Linked DNA regions of Homo sapiens: region 1 is linked to region 2. Evidence: promoter capture Hi-C in human tissues and cell types (Jung and others, 2019). All regions are on one chromosome and are shown on one strand. The core of a region is centred on a gene start or on the middle of the fragment in contact, and the rest is flanking DNA. Distances in the headings are between cores, read along the strand shown. Region 1 has its middle 35 kb from the start of FLJ20712. Region 2 holds the start of NT5C3A (5'-nucleotidase, cytosolic IIIA).

Evidence for each region. The method cuts DNA at HindIII sites, captures the fragments that hold promoters and counts their contacts. A contact is called where the count stands out against the background at its distance.
Region 1: a contact is called between a fragment that was not itself captured here and the fragment with the promoter of NT5C3A in region 2, in 2 of the 25 tissues and cell types used here (heart left ventricle and lymphoblastoid cells).

Annotation. Positions count from the first base shown.
Region 1 is chr7:33,759,137-33,762,670 of GRCh38, reverse strand. No RefSeq gene overlaps it. Among named protein-coding and RNA genes, the nearest start is that of FLJ20712, 35 kb to the right of the region's middle. The HindIII fragment of the contact is 5,997 bases long and covers 1-3,534 here.
Region 2 is chr7:33,061,440-33,064,994 of GRCh38, reverse strand. It overlaps NT5C3A (5'-nucleotidase, cytosolic IIIA), which reads left to right and starts at 2,219. Exons shown (of 9, transcript NM_001002010.5): 1 at 2,219-2,427. The coding sequence starts at 2,290. It overlaps LOC124901610 (a long non-coding RNA gene), which reads right to left and starts at 1,810. Exons shown (of 4, transcript XR_007060279.1): 1 at 1,347-1,810; 2 at 848-966. RefSeq lists an enhancer at 1,705-1,864 and silencers at 2,105-2,224, 2,525-2,584. The HindIII fragment of the contact is 10,077 bases long and covers 1-3,555 here.

The DNA of each region.
Region 1 (3,534 bases), core at 58-2,557, 700 kb before region 2:
GAAGCAAACTTCTTACAGCATGTATTAATGCATTATTTCCCCTTGTTCTAAATTTCTCTGCACCAAGCAAAAGAAGGAAGACATGCTCTTTCAAAATTACTGGACGAAGGTTGGCTAAAGTCAAAACTGGCCTATTAAATTTCTCTGAACCAAGCAAAAGAAGGAAGACATGCTCTTTCAAAATTACTTGACGAAGGTTGGCTAAAGTGAAAACTGGCCTAGTAATTGCCCAGTAAATCACAAGTCATAAGGCATCCTCACCTCCTCTGAACCTCAAGCCTTCAAGTTCTCTCTCTCTCTCTCTCTCTCTCATTAAATGGAAAGATAACAGCTGCTAGGGTCAGATTACCTTGGGCTGAAATCCTGGCTTCTCCATTTTCAAGGTTGATGGGCTTAGGCAAGTTATTTAGCTTCTTGAAACCCCATTTTCTTCACATGAGTAAGAACATCTAACTTGCAAGACTGTTATGAGGATTAAATGAGATGAATGTAAAGTATCGAACACAATGCCTGGCACATGATCAGTCTCAATAAATACTAGTTTCCAGATTCCCCTCCTTGGCCTCTTTTGCTAGTTTGAGTACAGCATATGTCTTCATTGTACATTCATCACAAATTCCTGGACCTCTGGCACATCAGATGTTCCAAGCATTCAGAGGTAACAAATTGGAGGGAACCCCCAAGGCTGTGGGAAGCCTGGTTTCCCAGCCCCTTATGCAGACCACCTACTGCTGCCTGCAGCAACCACCCTGTGAGGAGAGCAGCTGCCAGACAAAGGGACAAGGGACAGGCCTCCATCTGTACCTCCTCCCATTTGCCTCCAGCACAGCGGGCAGCCATCATCCCCCAGGAGACGCCTGGGAGAAGTTTCAGTGTTTCAGATGACAGATCAGCCCATGCTCTCTGACCCAGATTAGACCAGACCCAGAACCAGTCCACCCCTCTATGTCACCAGCAAAGGATTTTAATTCACTCCCAGGAGACTGTAAGGAACACTTGGACCAGTGACGCATGTAATCGGTTGCGCTCTGCAGTGAGCCTTCGGAAGGCTGTAAGTTTCACATGTTGCACTAATATTTCACCAGCCTGTCAGCCTTAGCCTGTCCATAGAAGCCAGGCTGCAAATTCAGCACTCTTCGTGTCCCCAGACAGTTGGGGGAGGAGAGGCAAAAAGGAGGCAGAAGAAGACTCAGAAGAGAAGAAGAAAGAAAACACATTTGAGACCTAATTCAGTGGTTCTCAGTGTGGCCCTGGTCCAGCAGCATCAGCATCCCCCAGGAGCTTGATAGAAAAGCAAATTCACAGGCCCCACCAGGGCCCCATCAGATATTCTATGGTGAAGCCTAGCAATCTGCTTCCACAAGCCCTCCTGCAAATCCGATGCATGTTATCACTTGAGAACCACCAAGCAAGCTAAATAATGTTTAGGTAAACTAAAAGTCTAAATTTGATGAGAAAAACAATGGCCCAGGGATCATTGTGATAAAGGAGAAAATCTCTACTTTGGGATCAGGAGTCCTTAGTATCATTTCCAGCTCCAATGATTGCTAACCATGTGATCTTGAGGAAGTGACTTATCTTTTCTGAGCTTCAGTTTCCTATGTGTTAAAGGTGGTAATCAGACCTCCCCTGCAGAGTTGGGGGATGAGATACACACTCTTTCGATGATCTAACATTTATAAGCCTGTTGTTTACTACACTACACCACAGAGCTTCCCCTGTATACTATCAGGGCGGGGTTCTCAACCTGTGGCAACTGAAAATGTCTCCAGACATTTCCGCAGGCCCCCATTCTGAAGCTCCAAGCCAAGTCAATATTGGAGTATCTTTATGCCATTCACATGAGTGAGGCAGATGGGAGGCAGGGAAGAAAAGGGAGTGGTAAGAGCTTGGGGTTCTCACAGATCTGAATTCAAATCCTAGCTCTGTACATGTTGCTTTTGTGAGCTTGGCCAAATAATTTAAGCTTTCTGAGTCTCAATTTTCCTATTGGTAAAATGGGTAGACAAATAGTAGCTACTTCTTAGGGTCTCAGTGAAAAGTTACATGATATCACGTGTGTGTAACACTTAGCATAGTGCTAGAAAATTATCACCTTGATGTACTACGTGGCCATATTTGGCTGGGCTCACAACAAATTGTGCATGATGAAACTGAAGACACTGTCTCTTAACAAGAATCCCAAAAATGATACATTTCAGTACAATGAGAAACTGGTTCCACATTTCACTCTCCATCCTTCAGTCCTTTACGGCCATTATGAACTTAGGGGTTGTCCATACAGAGAGGCTCTTTCATCAAGCCATAAGAGATTAACCACAATACAGCTTTAAAGGAACACTTTGTTTAATACCCCCCAGGGTGTGTGTGTGTGTGTGTGTGTACAGAGAGAGAGAGAACAAGAGAAAGAGACTCTTCTTGAACTCAGTAACAGTTGGCGAGAATGTGTCACCTCTAGGATAGAAAGGGAGTCCCCCTTTATATTATCAGTTACTGACCACTTACAACAACGTAGCACAGTGCACTACCTGCACTACTCACTTCATCTGCACAACCACCATTGTGAACATTATATAGGTACCACTATAATCCCCGTTTTACATGTAAAGAAACACGCTTTTAGGGGTAATTACATCCATACCACCTTAGGCAGACAGACTGATCTAATTCATTTCTTAGAGAGATTTTACAACCGATCTTTGTCATCTATTTAGCTAATATTTTCCACAGTCAGAAGAATTATCTTCCTCTGCATTAAGCTCCAAGTTGCTCTGAGACCTGATTTAGGGGGGTCAGAGGAACTGGACTAAAGCCAGGGTCATGGACTGGATTTGTCATCTTCTCCAAACATCTTTACATTCAGGCCAGACACAGCTCTGGGGAAGGAAAGCCACAGAACTGTAGATGGGTTCCTACGTTCTGTACCAAGATGGGGCTCCCACCTGGATTATGCCTGGATGGCAGCTGGCAGACACCTAGCTACATTCCAGCCACATTCAGCACCATTCTGGGGGAGATGAGGGCCTCCCTTCCTTTTTAAAGACCACCAAACTTCACTGATCCACACACTTTTCACTTTGTGGGTCACAGTTGATCATAAATATAACACGTCTGAAATCTGTGAATTTACGTTGGGTTTGTATCAATCGAGCCATCTACCTCTGGACCACTTGGGTGATACATCAGATATAGTTGGACTTTGCTCTCTTCCTGAATTCGCTAGAAACAGTTTGGGGCACATGATTAGGAAGATGTTTATTCAAAGGTAGAGTTCAGGGAGGAAAATATTATTAGGTGACTGTTGGGATTGGCTCATTATGCAAAGACTGGCTTAGAATTGCTTTTATCATAAAACTTTCACTTCTTCTAAGTTTAGTCCAATAACAAAAGTCTTCCTGTGGCAGTGGAAGGAGCCAAACAATAGCATGCTTTGTCTTTGGACTCACGAATTTTATTTCTAAGGTGTTGGGTGCCATTGGTCCTTGAGCTATAGTGCTCACTAGACAATGGGAAATTATGTAGACGAATTGAAGG
Region 2 (3,555 bases), core at 970-3,469:
GCACCATGCCCAGCTAATTTCTTTGGTTTTTCAGGGATTGTAGAGACAGGGTCTCGCTATGTTGCCGAGACTGGTCTCAAACTTGTGGCCTCAAGCAATCCCCCAACCTTGGGCTTCCAAAGTGCTGAGATTACAGGCACCAGCCACCTCACCTGGCCTGATTTCTTTCATCAGTATTTTGTAGTTCTCCGTGTAGAGATCTGTACTAGTCTGTTTTCAGGCTGCTGATAAAGACATACCCCAGACTGCGCAATTTACAAAAGAAAGAGGTTTAATTGGACTTCCAGTTCCACGTGGCTGGGGAAGCCTCACAATCATAGTGGAAGGCAGGGAGCAAGTCCCATCTTACATGGATGGGAGCAGACAAAGAGAGAATGAGGAAGACGCAAAAGCGAAAACCCTGATAAAACCATCAGATCTCCTGATACTTAAGTCACTACCACGAAAACAGTATGGAAGAAAACACCCCAATGATTCAATTATCTCCCACCAGGTCCCTCCCACAACACATGGGAATTATGGGAGTATAATTCAAAATAAGATGTGGGTGAGGATACAGGGTCAAACCATATCAAGATCTTCCATGTCTTTCAACAAGAATAATTAATATGTTAATTCACATAGAAGCTGAAATAGTCTCCAAACATGGCCAACCCTCTTAGATTCAGAAACACAAGGTTTACACTTATAAAAAACATATGGACCCCTTTCCTCCTGGAAATTTACTACCAGGGTTTGTAGTCTAATTGACTATACTCCTACAGCTTTAACATCTCATATAGATGATAATCAGACCTATGATATAGTATAACTAGTTAAAATAGAAATCATATTTCAGAGTACCCACATTCTTCCCATGTGCAGTTGACGGGCCATATTACAAAAACAAAATTTGGAACTCCATTTCTGTTTTAGATTGTCCACAGCTTCAAGACGAATGTTATCGTCTACAAAATGTTTAAAATCCTGAAATTATAGAAACGTGGCTTTAGTCTCTACCCATTCAAAATAATATGTAATATATGGAAAATGTTTTTGTTGAGGAAGAAAGATAAATGAGACTGTGACCATCTTAGGCCTCACAATCAGACAACATTTAAGTCATATTGGTATTTGGTGCAAAACTGGATTCATAAAAAATTACTTTGGCGACAAAATGACACAGTAGTCTAGATATTGATACTCAAATATTCTGGGTATTAAAACTCAGTCTTCTTCAGGTTATACTCCCAGCTAACTTACTTTGGGACACGTTCTCGGTCTATACTGAGTCTGTGTTCCCAGGCTTAAGTCCTCAAACTTGGCCGAGTAATAAAACTAACCATGATTTCTTTAAGTTTTAGTACCTGTTATTTCACCTTTCGGTCGACAAATCGTTTTTCTCATGTTCCTCTGTCTTACATCAATTTAATTTGTAGACCAGCCAAATGACCTAAAAGGCTAGAAGGAAACAATTTTTCCTCCCCTACAACTATTTCCTCTAGTCCTCCGGCTGAAAGTTGTTCCACGTCCTGGGCAGAGAGAGCCCCACCAGGCAGCACCACCAGCTCCACAGAGTTGGAGCGATTCCCCCAAGAAGCTCCCCTGCGCCCCTCCTCACCCCCAGAGACCAGCAGAAGAAATGGCATCTATCCCTTGGAAGACACTAGGCAGGAGAGAACAACTGCAAGCCCTTCTGCTCACACAGAAAAAAGGATGGCGGAGGTGGCGAATGGGATGTAGCAGAAACCCCGCGGCTGCGGCGGAAGGGACACCGCCCCTCTCCAGCCTAACTCTGAGCCATCTTCCCCCTGTTGTTATAGCACTTAGAACGGACGCCACTGCGCAGGTCACACCGTGCCGCGCAGCCTTCTGGGGGTCGGAGTCCAGAGGGGCTGAGGCGCGAAGGCGGAGACCGACTTCTTAGCGGGCCGCAGTTGGAATTAGATTTCTACTGGGGCGGGGCTCGAGCGAACCACGGCCTAATCCTCATTAGCAGAGAAGGATAATTACCGCAATACTCTGCCCTGCCCTGACAGCAGCTCGTGAGACCCTGAGTCTGCTGAAGGCCGCCTCCAGCCTGGGCTCCGGGCACAGGCCACACCCCTCCCGCCGCGTCCTGGCCTCTCCCATCGATGGCGTGTGGGTGGGGCTTCGTGGGGGCGGAGCTGCGCGGGGCGGGGCGTCGCTGCGCGGGGCGGGGCGTCGCGGGCTCGTCCGTGATGCTCTGGGATCCCGCGCTTCCGAGACTCGCAGTCTACGCGAGCTGCCTGTTTTTTTCCTGCTTGGACGCGCATGAGGGCCCCGTCCATGGACCGCGCGGCCGTGGCGAGGGTGGGCGCGGTAGCGAGCGCCAGCGTGTGCGCCCTGGTGGCGGGGGTGGTGCTGGCTCAGTACATATTCACCTTGAAGAGGAAGACGGGGCGGAAGACCAAGATCATCGAGATGGTGAGTGTGGAGGCTCGGCGCGCCCAGAGCACGCGAGGGGCCGGCTGGGCCGTCCGCTGGCCTCGGCAGCCTGTGCTGGGCCGCTGTTCGGTCGCGACGGGGAGCTGCCGGCGTCGCCTGTCAGGCTGGGATCTCGCTAGCTCGGGACGCGCAGCTTGGGGGACCCGGCCGCCCCGCGTGCGGCCACTCCGCGGGCTTGGTGACCAGGGTTGGGTCCCCGGCTGCGGCCCTTGGCTGCCCGTGGTCTTTGTTAGGTTTCCGTTTGAAGGAACAAGGCAGAAAATAGATGAATCGGACACAGGCTACTTTGTGCTGCAAAACCCGTTTCTCTAGAGATAAGCTGCATGTCCTGGGCAGGTGGCTCCTTCTCTCCCTGCCTTGCTCCCGCCCTCCCCCCGGATCCGCGTCAAACCGTTGCCGCTAATCTAGTTGCAATTCCCGCAGAGGACTAGTTTTATGTTGGGGCTGCCGTGAGTTAGATTATGAAAATGTGCAATATCTAAAATTTTACAAGAATGGCAATCCAGGAGAAATTCAGGATAGTTTATTTTGTATTTGAATGTATTCCTTCTTGTCTCAAAACTCCCACGAAATATCTTTGTTTTCATCTTAACTCCCAAAGCTCTTGTATACATTTTCGAATTTAATTTTTTATTGAAGAGGGTGTCTCAAGAATTCCCTTTGAGATACATTATAAGTAATTGTTTCAAAAATGAGGATATTTAGTTTCGTTTTGTATTTTAATTAGAACCCACTCAGGAAGACAATTCTTGCACAAACTTGCACGCTTATGTATTTCCTGAAATGCATAATCCTGGGTATACGCCTGACCGTGTGCTATACATGTGAACATCTAGGGTCAGATGATTTATGATAGAAAAAAATTTAAAATCTACACTAAATAATATCATTTTAGGGTGTAATACTTGGAATTTCTGAGCACCTGCAATATGTTCCAACTGACGAAAGACACGATTTGTCCTATTGGTTGTACTGACCCCAGGTTGAATACAGATGTATTTGCATAATTAAAATTAGCCAGTGTCCCAGCTATTTGGGAGGCTGAGAGGAAGATCACTGGAGTCTGGGAGTTCAAGGTTATAATCACACCTGTGGATAGCTACTGCA